Regions from separate parts of the Homo sapiens genome. Here region 1 is linked to region 2. Evidence: promoter capture Hi-C in human tissues and cell types (Jung and others, 2019). All regions are on one chromosome and are shown on one strand. The core of a region is centred on a gene start or on the middle of the fragment in contact, and the rest is flanking DNA. Distances in the headings are between cores, read along the strand shown. Region 1 overlaps NCALD (neurocalcin delta). Region 2 holds the start of UBR5 (ubiquitin protein ligase E3 component n-recognin 5).

Region 1 (6,762 bases), core at 1,131-3,630, 720 kb before region 2:
GAAGGCCTGTCACTTGTGGAGAGGAGGGGAGGGGGTGGGGTAGGAGTTGGGGGACTGCAAGGCTTTTCCCATTCCTGGTGCTTCCAGAAGGACCCTTCCTCTTTGTCTACCCCGCCCCTGGGAGTGAAGTGACATGCTCGATTGGTAAATTTGGGAGGAATTGCTGGGCATCTCCGCCCAGCTTTGCCCTCCCTTTTTCTCTTGAAAGGAGCTGCCCCAGAGAGGATTTATTTCCATCTGCTCCTCCAAGGGCAGCACCCGGCCTGCCTGGCTCTGCACGCCTGTGGGTTTTTCAGCACGTCCTTGGACTCTCACGCTAAGCCATAGCCTCCAGTATCTATCTTTTGACCTCTGTCCTCTTTTATTTCTCAACTTACTCCAAACCTGACAGGAGGGGGCCTCCCCCAACAGAAACACCAACAAACATATCTTCTCCTCAGCCACAACTCCCTCCCCGCCAGAACCTAGTTCTTGTTTAATGAAACCCACTTTATCTCCATGAAGGAAAAAGATAGGGATGCATTTATTAATTTATTTTTAATTTGTAGAGCTGATCCCCTCCAAGCTCTGTGTGCTGGCCATTTTTTATGAGCCCAGCCCTGCCCACATAGTAGTTACAATGGTAATGACTTCCTCCAGCTTGGCAAGGCATGAGGGAAGGGAGACAGGCGTGATCTCTGAACACTTTGCAGTCTCTCAGGGGTCGGCTCTGGGAGGCACCAGCTGGAGGTAGCAGGGGCAGACCTGGAGCTCGGCATGACGTCTGGCTTTCTTCACTTAACTGTCTGCATGATTCAGAGTTGGCTCCTAGGAGAACTTGCCTGAGGGCCCAGATTTTTCTTTTCAAATCGGAGGCCAGAAGTTAGATTCCAAGAGCAACAGGCAAGCTAAATCTAAGGGTAGGAGACTCTAGGTGAGGACTGCTCTGCTCTCGGCAGGGAGGGGTGCAGGTGTCCTCAATCCTGGGGTCCAGCAGCCAAGCACTGAGCTGAAGCACCCAGTCTCCTGGTTGAGCTAAGATTCCTCTGACAGCTGTGAACTTACAGCCCCTCTTCCTCCTTCCTTCTACAGCTCCCACCCCCCTCTCCCAACCCTAACCTTTGAAAATTTAATTTAATTTTAAACATGAGGTTTTCCTTTGGAAAGGCACAGGTCTTTAGCAGTAAGTTGTGCTCTGAGAATGCTAACTCAGTCAGGGCTCTGCAATCCCATAGCAGCAGAGTCCCAGTGGAAAGACCCTAATTCATTGCCTGTGATCAACACACAGTTAGGGCTTTAGGGCTTTATCCTGTGACATCTGATCTTCTCCCATCCTTCAGCCCTATCCTGAAGAGCTGTCTGGACCTAGAGCACAGCACAAACCCATTGTGCTCCCTTGAGTACCAGTAAAACCTGCAGTTTAACATCAGCAAGTTAATTAACTATTAAAATAATCCCGTGCTTGTTTAGTCACAACTATTCATTGTGAATCAAAGCAAATAAGGGGACATAGGATGTTTCCAAATGGAATGGCACCTTTGTGGAGGAAACAAGCAAGCAGACAGGCCCATACCACACAAACCCAGATTCTTAGGCAGCTGTACCTGGGCGGGGGATAAAAGGAGACAGAGGCTCTCTGTACTGCGAAGCCGCCTTCTGCTGTTCTATAGATCAGCGCCAGGTGGGGGACCCAAGTGCCTGTGCACATGGTTGACAAGAATTGCCGAGGCCTCTGAACAGATCGGGTGAGCTGATAATAACAGCAAGAGCTACAGAGCCGGGCCCTGAGCTGAGCTCTTTAAACTCAAGTATAACATTTAAATAGGGTTGCCAGATCTGGCAAATTAAATACATGATGCCCCGTTAACTTTGAATTTCAGATAAACAGCAAGTGACTTTTTTAGTTGGCTAAACAATTGTTAGGCTAATCCTAACAACTGTTGCTGTTTATCTGAAATTCCAGGATAATTGGGCCTCCTGTATTCTATCTGGCAATTTAAGATCTAAAATCCTTCTGTTCTTAAGTTGGAAATGCAACCTTCTTTTTCACTTCGTTGGGTTTGAATTGTGGGTAGCACCATCAGGGTGGGAACCTGCTGGGCACCTTACTCCCTCACCACTACCCCGGGCACCCCAGTGACTATGGGAGCCCACTGTCTCTGGGAAACACAACATCTCAGTGCATGCACAGGAGACCCCAACAAAACCCCTTTGGCAGGCTGGAGTGAAAGCTGTCGGCATCTGGGTAGGATCACAGAATAACAACCCTCTCCCCATTTTGATGAACTGGACTGCAGGGACCCAGCCTGCTATAGCCTAGGCCTGTCCCAAGGATGGGTCTGTGCTAACAATGGTTTCTTGGTTCCTTTCATTCTTGCCCCACAAGATCCATTCTGTTTTCTTGGAGGTAGAAGTTGACCTACAAGGAGGATAGAAAAAACTAGAAATAAGGCATTTCCCCCAATTCTGGGCTCAGCTCTCCTGTGGCCACCTGGTCCTCTCCCCTCCTACCCACCCAGGAGGCTTGGAGGATGAGCCGCTCACATTGAAGGGCCTCGAGTGGCACTTCCCAGTCTGGACTCTCCAGTCCTTCCAGCAGCCCCCATCTGAGCAAAGCAGTGTAGCCCCCGCCTCCTACCGTCTCTATTGGTGTCCATCTGGCGGAAGATCTTTTCTGTTCTTTTCTCTGGGGTTGACTCATCTTCAGGCATTTTCATTACAGAGGAAACCATCTTATAGATTGCCTGGGGACAGAAGCGACATGGTGGTAAGACAGAAAAACAGTATGGCACACAATAGACCTATCATTAAACCTCCCAAATGCGGGCTGAAGGGAATGTCCCCATCCGCATTGGACCTAGTCCTACCCCTATTGATTGGTATAAGATGTGGAGGCACAGGTAGAAGAAGCCGGGCCCACAAAGCTTGTTCTCCTCCAGTGAGGACCTTCAGGAGGGACAACCAGCAGGAAGACCCAGTAGACCCCTGTGTCTCCAATGTTTTTTGATTGTTTTTTGAGACAGGGTCTCATTCTGTCACCCAGGCTGGAGTGTAGTGGCACGCTTACGGCTCACTGCAGGCTCCATTTCATAGGCTCAAGCAATCCTCCCACCTCAGTCTCCTGAGCAGCAGCTGGGACTAGAGGTACTCCCCACCACACAGGGCGTTTTTTTTTTTTTTTTTTTTTTTTTTTTTTTTTCTGTACAGACAAGGTCTCATTATGTTGCCCAAGCTGGTCTCGAACTCCTGGGCTCAAGCTTCTCCTCCCTCAGCCTCCCAAAGTGCTGGGATTACAGACATGCGCCACCTCTCCTAGCCGTCTCCATTGTTTATGTGCATACAAATCCCCTGGGAATCTTGTTAAAATGCAGAATCTGATTGGGTAGTGTGGGGGAAAGGGGTGGGGCTGAGAGTCTGTATTTTTAATAAGCTCCGGTGTGATGCTGATGCTGCTGTTCTGAAGACGCTGCTTTGAAAAGCAAGGTTCCCACTTTGAGGAGCAAGGCTGCAGATGACATTCTTCAGGCTAGAGAGGCAAGTGGATGCCTATCATGGACCCTTGAGAGTCCACAATGACTCCTCAAGGATGACAGACATGTAACACTCTGTAAGTGCATGCCACATGTTTCCCCAGGCAGACTTCTAGTCCATTCCAGTGCTTTTCTCCCTGTGTGTGACAATGGTCTCAAGTTCCTTCTCAGCAAGCTTCCAGGCAGTCCTGAGATGGAAACCACCTGCCATCAGAGCTCTGAATTATTATGCATCCTCAGGCCTGAGCTAAACTGGGTACAGCTATGAGATCTGATGGGCGAAAGAGGATTCTGTGGAGTTTTGTAAGCACTACTGAAACTATCACCCCATGCCTGTGACCTCCACATGGGACTCAGTAAGGGCCCTTTGACCTCTGTGGTCAAAGGTAGTTTTTATTTGGGAAGAGGAATGAAAAGTCATTGTTTTTATCCCCAGATCATGACTTTGCTAATCAGAGTCACTTTGGGCATCTTGGCCCTGGGGACAATTTTTAGAAAAAATAGATTTTGCCAGGGAGTAGGCAGAAAATTTCAGAGAGTTCTGGAGCTCTAGGGGCAGCAAGGCAGGTGCAGAGGACAGAGAAAGGAAAGCAGCTGAGGGGAGTCGCCTCCAAATGGGAAAGGTGAGAGCAGAAAAAGACACTGAAGCTTCACCTGAGCTGCTTTACAGTCTTGCTCAGGACCAACCCTGCCAGAAGTTCCTAACATGTTCTGGATAAGGTAGGGTAAGTACTCTAATCTCAGTCAAAATAAGAATGAAAACAGACTCACCCAGTGTGCTGGCCCTTAGGCTGATCCCATCCCTCAGGGATGCTTCTGGACAGGCTCCCTGAGTCTGTCTCAAACCCACCCAATGTGCTTACTGAACTCCATAGCTGACTCTGCAGCGACTTGGTCTGGGAGGTAAAGCGCAGAGTTAGGGTGCTGTCTAGGATTATGGGTGTCCCTGGGGTAAGCTGAGCCATTTCATTCCCAAGAAATGCTCACTGAAGTGTGCTCTGGAGACAAGAGGGGAGCCATCGTCTGCCCTCCTCATCATGGTCCCCTGCCTGCTGTCATCCCAGCCCAGGTCTGCTCCACCAACTGTGCTGGGGCTGTAGTGCCATGTGCCTCACTGCCGGGGACACGTAAGTTCTTGGGGGAGCTAGGAAAGGCCGGAGAGATGGAGCTGTTTTTGCAAATGGGAGAAGAGAGGCCCTGAGATTTAACACGCCCAGGTGAATATTTAGTAACAGTAGACAGCAGGTGTCTTTTCACACCAGCAAAAGTCTTGAGGTCTAGCAACCTCTCCCCAGCTTGCTTTGCTCCCACAGTGGAAGCTTTTCGTAACTCTTGACATAGTCAAAATGGAATCGGCACCAACTATGAAAACATGCACACCCCTCACATACATTTCAAGCTCATATGATCTAAATATTTGGTGAATTCATAAGCCCAGGAATCTTAGGACAACAATAACACAACATTTAGAAATTGGCATCCCTGCAGATCACATTAGCACAACCTCCTTAAAGGAGAGCGCATGGAGCTGTTTCAGGAGTTGCAGAGGTGTTGCGGGGAAGAGCACTTACAGACAAGGGATAAGTTTATTTTTGCCAGAAGTTTTAAGGGGGCTGTGTATTTATTCATTATCAATCTTCTTTGGGGCTGGATTGTTCCTTCTCCAAGTCTGTTCTGGCCTCAGTAAGTTTGTCTCACGTGGTCCTTCTAGATGCCACTGGCTTTGTGCCTGTGACTGGCCATAGGAGGTGTCTCCCAGCTCAGATGCTCCACAAAGGCTGTTGTCAAGAGTCTGACAACATGATACGCTCCTTGGTGTCCTGGACCAGCAGCTTTGTTTATATTCTTCTCTCACCTGAGTGCTCACCTACCCCATCTCCCCTCCTCCTTGGACTCTTACCCATGTGTTAAGAGCAGATCAAAATGTTACCCTCCTCCAGGAAGCCTTCCATCATCTTCCCTTCTTCTATTGCTATGTGCAATCTCCCTCCCTCTGTGCTAGCAAGGGGCTCCAACCCAACCTCTCTCATATCACTTCCTTCCATTTACCTTGAATTCACACCCAGAATGTTCTCCTTTTAGATGTGAGGGTAGCAGTCACATCTATTTTTTGAATCCCTGATAGTACCTAACATAGGGTCTTGAATACAGTCAACTTCACTTAGTTTAAAGAATTTATTCAGGAATAACTGTCCCCCAGTTGCCCTCTCATTCTTTCCCTCTCTCACCTTTATTCTGCACTGCTCCAATTTATAAAGTTCCCCTTTATCCTTTTATATGTTTTTTTTAGTTTCCTCTTTTCTTTTTCTTCTCTCTCTCTTCACATAATTAAACATATTCATGTGAAACCCCTTAAAGACTTAATCTGTCAAAAGATTTGAGCTTTTCCCTTAGAAACCATGCAAACCCACCCACCATTGCAGACGATCTCAGAGGTTTGGGTATTTAGAAGCTGATCCATAGACCCCAGGTCATGGAAATCCCTGCTCTTAGGTGACTGCCTCTTCATCCATCCACTCACTCAGTCATTCATCAAATATGTATAAGCAACTAATGTGTACCAGGTATTGACATTGACCTAATCCTTTCCCTCATGGTTTTTGCTGTGAAATAAGGCAGACATTAGTAAAATAAAGAAATACATGTAAAACCATTGTTGAGAAAAGTGCTAGAAAGAAGAGTGCATGGCTTCTGTGATGATATAGTGGGAGAGTTAGGTTTTGCCAGGAGGGTTAGGGTAGGCTTCTCTGAGGAATGATGATTGCACAAAGACGTGAAGAAAGCATAGGGCTTAAATAAATCAGGGGTGAGCAAAACACCATGTGGAAGCCCAGAGTGGGAGCGTGGCAAGGAGGTCAACAGAGTGTGGGGGCGTTCAGTACACAATGTGGCTCTAGAGCAAGCAGGGAAAGACCACTGAGGCCTCACAGTGTTTAGGGATCTGTATTTCTCCAACGAGCAACAAAAGATGGAAGTGACATTAAATTTGATTTTCCTATTCACATTCATTTCCCAAATTTACCTCTCTTCCCTTCCTTACTTGCAGTCAGTGGTGTTCAGAGAATTGAAAAGTAGTCATTTGCAACATACCAGAATCTCTGGGAGACAGCTAAAGCTGTGTTAAGAGGGAAATTTATAGCACTAAATGCCCACATCAGAAAGCTAGAAGGATCTCAAATCGCCACTCTAACATCACAATTAAAAGAGCTAGGGAAGCAAGAGCAAACAAATCCAAAAGCTAGCAGAAGAGAAG
Region 2 (6,698 bases), core at 1,911-4,410:
AAAGTCTATTTACACCCTTTTCATACATAACTATGATTATCATTTTATTTGTGACTCTCATACATTTCTCATAATAAAAAAAGTCAAGCTACAGTAGCAGTAGCTTTTTTATTGCCCCAACTTACTAAAACTTGGTAAAGTTTTTATCTTTAGATGAAAATACGCTTATTCTAGTTAATTAAAAGGTTCCAGAAAACCAGTCTCTTTTGGAAACAGATTTTTCTCAAGTGACAGGTTGATCCTATTACAAGTAGGTATGCAAAAAGGAGCCCTCCTTTTGAAAGGGAAACACAGAACAGCTCCTGCCACAAATCAGCTACTTCAAAACTTAGGATATGTGCCTATCTTAAATGCTGCCTTCACAAATCTCAAAAGGCAAGACATGTTTACCGCTACTAGATACAACCATATAGCTCTTTATAATTTCACCTACGGCACCTTTCTATTTTTCAAATATCTGCCACCTTGATGCACATGTTATGACTCAAGTCTACTTTTTTCCTAATTTCATGAAATTAAAAGTCACTATGATCTAAATATTTTTAATGTTGTATAATGATAGAAGAATCAAACAAAGCTGATTGTTTATACTAGGAATGGAAAAAGAAGAGTTAGCATTTAAAAAGATACATTACTTGTAAATTTCTCAAATAGCTGAAGCAAAAGGAATGCTCAAAAATGAATCAAAGTGCCCAACACAACCGCAAAATAGGTTTTGGCATGCACAGCCAACTGAGTAAGCTAGTCAGGTTTCTTGGTACATAAAGTTAGGACTAATATAGAAAACATGCCCTACCTCTCTTCTCTCTGGTGCGGTTTTCTAAGTAACAAGACAAGCACTACCAACATGGTTCTGTTAATGACCGTAGAGCTATCCTCACTACTAGCCTGTTTCTAAATTTTACCAAAAAATTTTATGTTAATGTCTCCAAAAGATCTTTAATGAAGTAAAGTCAGGCTAAGAACCACATAACAAAATGTTAAATAACTAAAAAGTTATTTCAGAATTTAAAGGAACTATGTGACAACTCTGAGTAGTTAGTATTTTCAGTAAGTATTTCAAAAGATTCCCAAACATGTTAAATACAATATGGCTACAGCAAAGATTAGGCAAATCCGAACCAAGTGCAGAAACTAAACCGCCAGCTCTGGATTTAAAAGCTGTCTGCTCCACTTGAGGCGGTTAGATACACTGACACAAGAGGCCAGTATCTCAGCAGCAAGTTAGGCCTCTTCCTCCCTCTGGGAAGCGCATGACAAACAGGGCATCATGCAACTTAAGTCACCCGGTCACTTAGCAAAAATTCTATGTAACTTCTAAACTTGGGACCAGATGGCCTTCTATACGCAAAAGAAATGTAGAGAGCAGTGAAGTACTGGGAGAGAGGAAGACTTAAAATGCTCCACTTTGTGATCCTGTAAACATTTAGCCCATCATTAGATCTGAGTCTTAGATTCTAAGACATGCTTTAATGGAGGCCTCCCTCAACCTCCTGAGTCTGTTTTCCAACAGTGAAGGAACTTTTCCTGCCTTATCTCAGTTCCCTGAGAGCATGCGGCACTGCAATTCAATATCCTAAACTGGCAAGGAACGGTGGCGGAAGAAAAGGAGAAATCCAAACCAAAACAGCCTATAAAAGACAAAACATAAAATAAAATCATAATTCATCCTCCGCCCATAGCAAACCCAACCCAGAAATTTACAGCGTGTTAAGAAAAGCAGCATTGCGAACTGCAAACGTAAGAGTTTTCCTTTGACACTCTACGCACGGTTTTCAGCTGTCAAATTACAACTCAGGAAAACACTATCATTAGAATAGAAAAGGAAACAAAAAAGCTCGCACCACAGGGGCTAGTAGCAGGAGCTGCCAGCACCATTTCAGGAGGAGAGTAAAGGGAATCCAATGCACTTCCCCACCCCCGCTTGAATCCATCCCCTCCCGGGGCAGGCAAACCTCACTGCAGGGGCTCAAATTTAATAATAATAACAATAATCATGGCGCTTCCTCCCTCACTCCCTCCCCCAACTATCACCTTCCCCCCACCCCCCGCCCGCTCCCAGCAATCTGCCGGGAATCGGCTTCTCTCCCCAACCCGACCCCGGGATCCCCAGGTCCAGACCACCCCACCGGACACAGCTGCCGGGGGCCCGGGACAAGCCCAGCCCAGCCCACCCCGGGGCCCCTGGCCCCGCTTCTCCTCTTCCCTCTCTTTTTACCTCCACCATCCCCCATCCGCATTGTCTGTCTCAATTCAACTTTGACTAATATGGATTCCTCGGGCCTTGGCCGGGCAGTAATTACCGCCTGCCCCCCGGGAGCCAGAAACCACCCCCCCATCTCCGCCGAGTTCAACGCCGCTCCTTGCGGGAGGGGGAAGGGGGTTTACAGAGCGCTCTCCAGTCTACACCGCGAGTCCCGTCTACACCGCGCTCCCCCCGCGGCCCCCTGCCCCCGGGATGAGAAGTTTGCCCCGGAAGGAGCCTAGCAGGAGGCAGTAAGGACCCCCGCACCCCACCCCAGCTGGCCGGCCGGCGCGTAAACACCCGCACCCGCCCGGCACGGCCCGTGGGGGAGGGGAGGGAGGGAAGGGCGCCCCTCCCCCCGCGCCCGCCGACCCGCCAGCCCTATTACCTGTCATTGAGCTGGTCCTCGGTGCCCGGCAGCGGGTGAACCACGAAATGGATGGACGTCATGGTGCTTTCCTTCTCGTCCTCCACTCGAGGGCGGCCCCCTCCCGCTCTCGCCCGCCCCCCAGCCCTCTACCCCTCCCCAAAACCCACAGCCGCCGCCGCCTCCCAGTCCCCAAATGGAGGGAAGCAAATACGCAGGGGCCGCCGCCGCCTCCCTGCCGGGCGTGTGTCCGCGGCCCGGAGGGGCGGGCAGGAGGGCGAATCCACACGCCACCCGCTCCCCCGGCGACAGCGCGGAGTGCGAGGCAGGCGGCCGGGACCAGGGGCGCGCCGCCGGCCAGCGGCAGACGGGCGTTGGGAGAGGGGCGGCCGGGGGAGGAGAGGGGCGGCTGCTGGCTGCGGGCTACGGGGACGGTCTGGTCCCGGCGGCGGACGGGGTCCGGACTAGGGGAGGTGAGGAAGGAGGGGAAGGAGATGAGCCCGCACCGCGCGTCACTAGCGAGAAGCTGCCGCCGCCATCTTCACTTCTGCCCCAGTTTCTCCGTCTCGCAGGCTCCGCTCCGGAGCGGCGGGGGAGGGGCAAACGGGAGGAGGAGGAGGGAGGAGACCGGCGGGCGGGGGCGCGGCGGCGAGAGGCGGGGCTCCGGGAAACGGGCGGCAAGGCCCCCTCGATTGGGCTGCTCAACGTTGTCGGGCCACGACGCTGTAAGGCGCGTGCCGATTGGTCCGTTCGGCTCCCGAGCCCAGCCCCGCCGGGGGTGGGATGTCTCCAGAGTGAGTGTTCCGGAGAGCACGTGTTAGGGAAGGAGGAGGCTGCGGGCTAACCTGCCGGGAGGGAGGGTAAGTGTGTGTCCCAGAGGAGGCGAGGAGGAAGAGGGGCTCTTGTGTTCTTTCGCTCGGATTCCCCTGGGGCAGCCCTAATTATTTGGCGGATCCTTAGGGGTTTCTTGTTGCTTCTCATCCTTCATCCGCAGTTGTATTTATGGTGAAGTTGGTAAAATCAGTTAAGGGGCAAGACATATACAGCCTTTTATTGGAAAAGTAAGGAAATTATGTAAGGGCCTTTCCAGAAGGAGATAGTAGGATCCTGGAGTTGGCTTTGCAGCAACTTCTATTACCTCGGTCTCCCCAGTTTCCTCACCACCATCACATGCCCAAAGACAAAATGTGGAAATTTCCACTAATTTCCTGATATAAATGATTCGTGATTTTTTATTACTTTTAAATGAAAGATGATAAACCTGTTCTACAAAGGAGTTCAATTTATGATCAGTGGAATCAGAACGGAAAATTATTATTTTTTTTTTTTTTTTCCCCGAGACGGAGTTTCGCTCTTGTTGCCCAGGCTGGAGTGCAATGGCGCGGTCTCGGCTCACCTCAACCTCCGCCTCCCGGGTTCAAGCGATTTTCCTGTCTCAGTCTATGGAGTAGCTGGGATTACAGGCATGTGTCACCACGTCCGGCTAATTTTGTATTTCTTTTTTAGTAGAGATGTGGTTTCACCATGTTGGCCAGGCTGGTCTCGAACTCCTGACCTCAGGTGATCCACCCGCCTCGGCCTCCCAAAGTGCTGGGATTACAGGCCTGAGCCACCACGCCTGGCCGAGATAGGATCTTTTATACCGAGTTTCTACTATAAGACACTTTCAGAGTTTTGGCCACGGCGCACAGTGGCTCACGCCTGTAATCCCAGCACTTTGGAAGGCCGAGGATGTCGGATCACCTGAGGTTGGGAGTTCGAGACCAGCCTAGCCAACTTGGTGAAACCCCATCTCTACTAAAAATGCAAAAATTAGCCAGGCATGGCTGTGCGCGCCTGTAAACCCCACTACTCAGGAAGCTGAGGCAGAAGACTTGCTTGAACCTGGCAAGTTGCAGTGAGCTGAGATCATGCCACTGCACTCCAGCCCGGGCAACAGAACGAGACTCCATCTCAAAAAAAAATTTTTTTTAATCAAATAAGTCTGTTTTTTTTTCCCTAAGGAACCAATTCATGACTTTCTTCTCAAAGGTTTCTATGACCTCCTTTAAAAAATAAAGTACCTCTTCGAAGGCAAAAACTGAGAACATGACATTCCTTCTACAGAGGTGGTCTGTTAATGAATTACACACACACACACACAGTTTTGCTTAGGAAGTTCTTCTGAGCAAAATTTATGAAAAAATACTTACAAATCAGGACAGACCTGGTACCCTCAAGGCAGATAATGGAACACTTTTGTAGGTTACCAGCTCAACCATTGGCCCAGATTAGTTTAGACTAAAAAGTGATTTCAAGGTCACTATTAGATGTCCCTGGGAGCCCTGAGGAAGGAAGGTAGACCAGTAGACACTGCTAGATTTCAAGCCAAACAGATCTAAAAAAAATTTTTTTTTTTTGAGACGGAGTCTTTGCTCTGTCGCCCAGGCTGGAGTGCAATGGCACGATCTTGGCTCACTGCCACCTCCGCCTCCTGGGTTCAAGTGATTCTCCTGCCTCAGCCTCCCGAGTAGCTGGGATTACAGGCGCTGCCACCATGCCTGGGTAATTTTTGTATTTTTAGTAGAGACAAGGTTTCACCATGTTGGCCAGGTTGGTCTCGAACTCCTGACCTCAGGTGATCCACCCACCTCGGCCTCCCAAAGTGTTGGGATTACAGGCGTGAGCCACTGCGCCCAGCCCAGATCTAAATTTCAGTTGTTTCTGCTACTTAACTACGTGGCCTTACTTGGATTTAGATTAGTTAGATTTGGCCGGGTGCACTGGCTCACGCCCATAATCCCAGCACTTTGGGAGGCCGAGGTGGGTGGATCACCTGAGGTCAGGAGTTTGAGACCAGCCTGGCCAACATGGTGAAACCCTGTCTCTACTAAAAATACAAAAATTAGCCAGGAGTGTTGGTGTGGCTGTAGTCCCAGCTACTCCAGAGGCTGAGGCAGGAGAATTGCTTGCTCGAACCCGGGAGGTGGAGGTTGCAGTGAGCCAAGATTGTGCCACTGCACTCCAGCCTGGGCGACAGAATGAGAATCTGTCTTAAAAAAAAATTAGTTAGATTTAACCTATCATTGCATCTTTTTTCCTCATTTGTTAAATATTCCATACTAATAGATCTATCTACACAGAGTTGCAGTGAGATCTAAATAAGATAATGTATGTCAGACACCTAGGACAGTTCATATACATAGTAGGCTCAGCAAATGGAAACATTTACTTGTCTGGTGCTATGTTCCAGTTTTTTTTTTTGTTTTTGTTTTTGTTTTTGTTTTTTTGAGGCAGGATTTCACTCCCATCACCCAGGCTGGAGTGCAGTGACATGGCCTCGGCTCACTGCAACCTCCACCTAGCAGGCTCAAGCAATTCTCCTGCACTGGCCTCCCGAGTAGCTGGGTCTACAGGCACAGGCTACCACGCCTGGCTAATTTTTGTATTTTTTGTAAAGGCGGGGTTTTGCCATGTTGCTCAGGCTGGTCTTGATCTCCTGGGCTCAAGCGATCGACCCACCTCGGCCTCCCATCTATGTTCAACTTTTACACCTTATACCTTTTAATACTTGAATCACACTATAGGGTAAATTATAATATCCCTGTTATCTAGATGAGGACACTGGGGCTCAAACACCTGAGGTAAGGACTGAAGCTGATACTGAAACCCCGGTCTTCTGACTTGGATTCCATTGTTCTTTCCACTATACCACTGCTGCCATCTAGAAGTTAATAATTTAGAAGGAACAGACTATTCAAAGCCAATAGAGAAAAAAATTATATGATAAATGGAAGAAGAGTAATGTGGAGGTTGAAGGAGGAAGTGATTCCAGCCAAGAGAATTAAGAAAAGTCACTCAAGCTGAGCTTTCTTTTTTTTTTTTTTTTTTTTTTGAGACGGAGTTTCAACCTTGTTGCCCAGGCTGGAGTGCAGTGGCGCAATCTTGGCTCACTGCAACCTCCGCCTCCCAGATTCAAGCAATTCTCTTGCCTCAGCCTCCTGGGTGGCTAGGATTACAGGTGCCCGCCACAACACCCGGCTAATTTTTTGTATTTTTAGTAGAGACAGGGTTTCACCATGTTGTCCGGGCTGGTCTCGAACTCCT

What was found. The method cuts DNA at HindIII sites, captures the fragments that hold promoters and counts their contacts. A contact is called where the count stands out against the background at its distance.
Region 1: a fragment that was not itself captured here is called in contact with the fragment with the promoter of UBR5 in region 2 in 1 of the 25 tissues and cell types used here (dorsolateral prefrontal cortex).

What each region holds. Positions count from the first base shown.
Region 1 is chr8:101,690,174-101,696,935 of GRCh38, forward strand. NCALD (neurocalcin delta) reads right to left here. Exons shown (of 4, transcript NM_032041.3): 3 at 2,618-2,723. Among named protein-coding and RNA genes, the nearest start is that of NCALD, 97 kb to the right of the region's middle. The HindIII fragment of the contact is 3,080 bases long and covers 841-3,920 here.
Region 2 is chr8:102,409,540-102,416,237 of GRCh38, forward strand. It overlaps UBR5 (ubiquitin protein ligase E3 component n-recognin 5), which reads right to left and starts at 3,161. Exons shown (of 59, transcript NM_015902.6): 1 at 2,634-3,161. The coding sequence starts at 2,695. It overlaps LOC105375683 (a long non-coding RNA gene), which reads left to right and starts at 2,800. Exons shown (of 5, transcript NR_168428.1): 1 at 2,800-3,472. RefSeq lists enhancers at 1,383-1,442, 1,553-2,331, 2,332-3,110, 3,485-3,754, 4,316-4,425 and 2 more and silencers at 2,525-2,964, 3,025-3,104, 3,135-3,334. The HindIII fragment of the contact is 18,623 bases long and covers 1-6,698 here.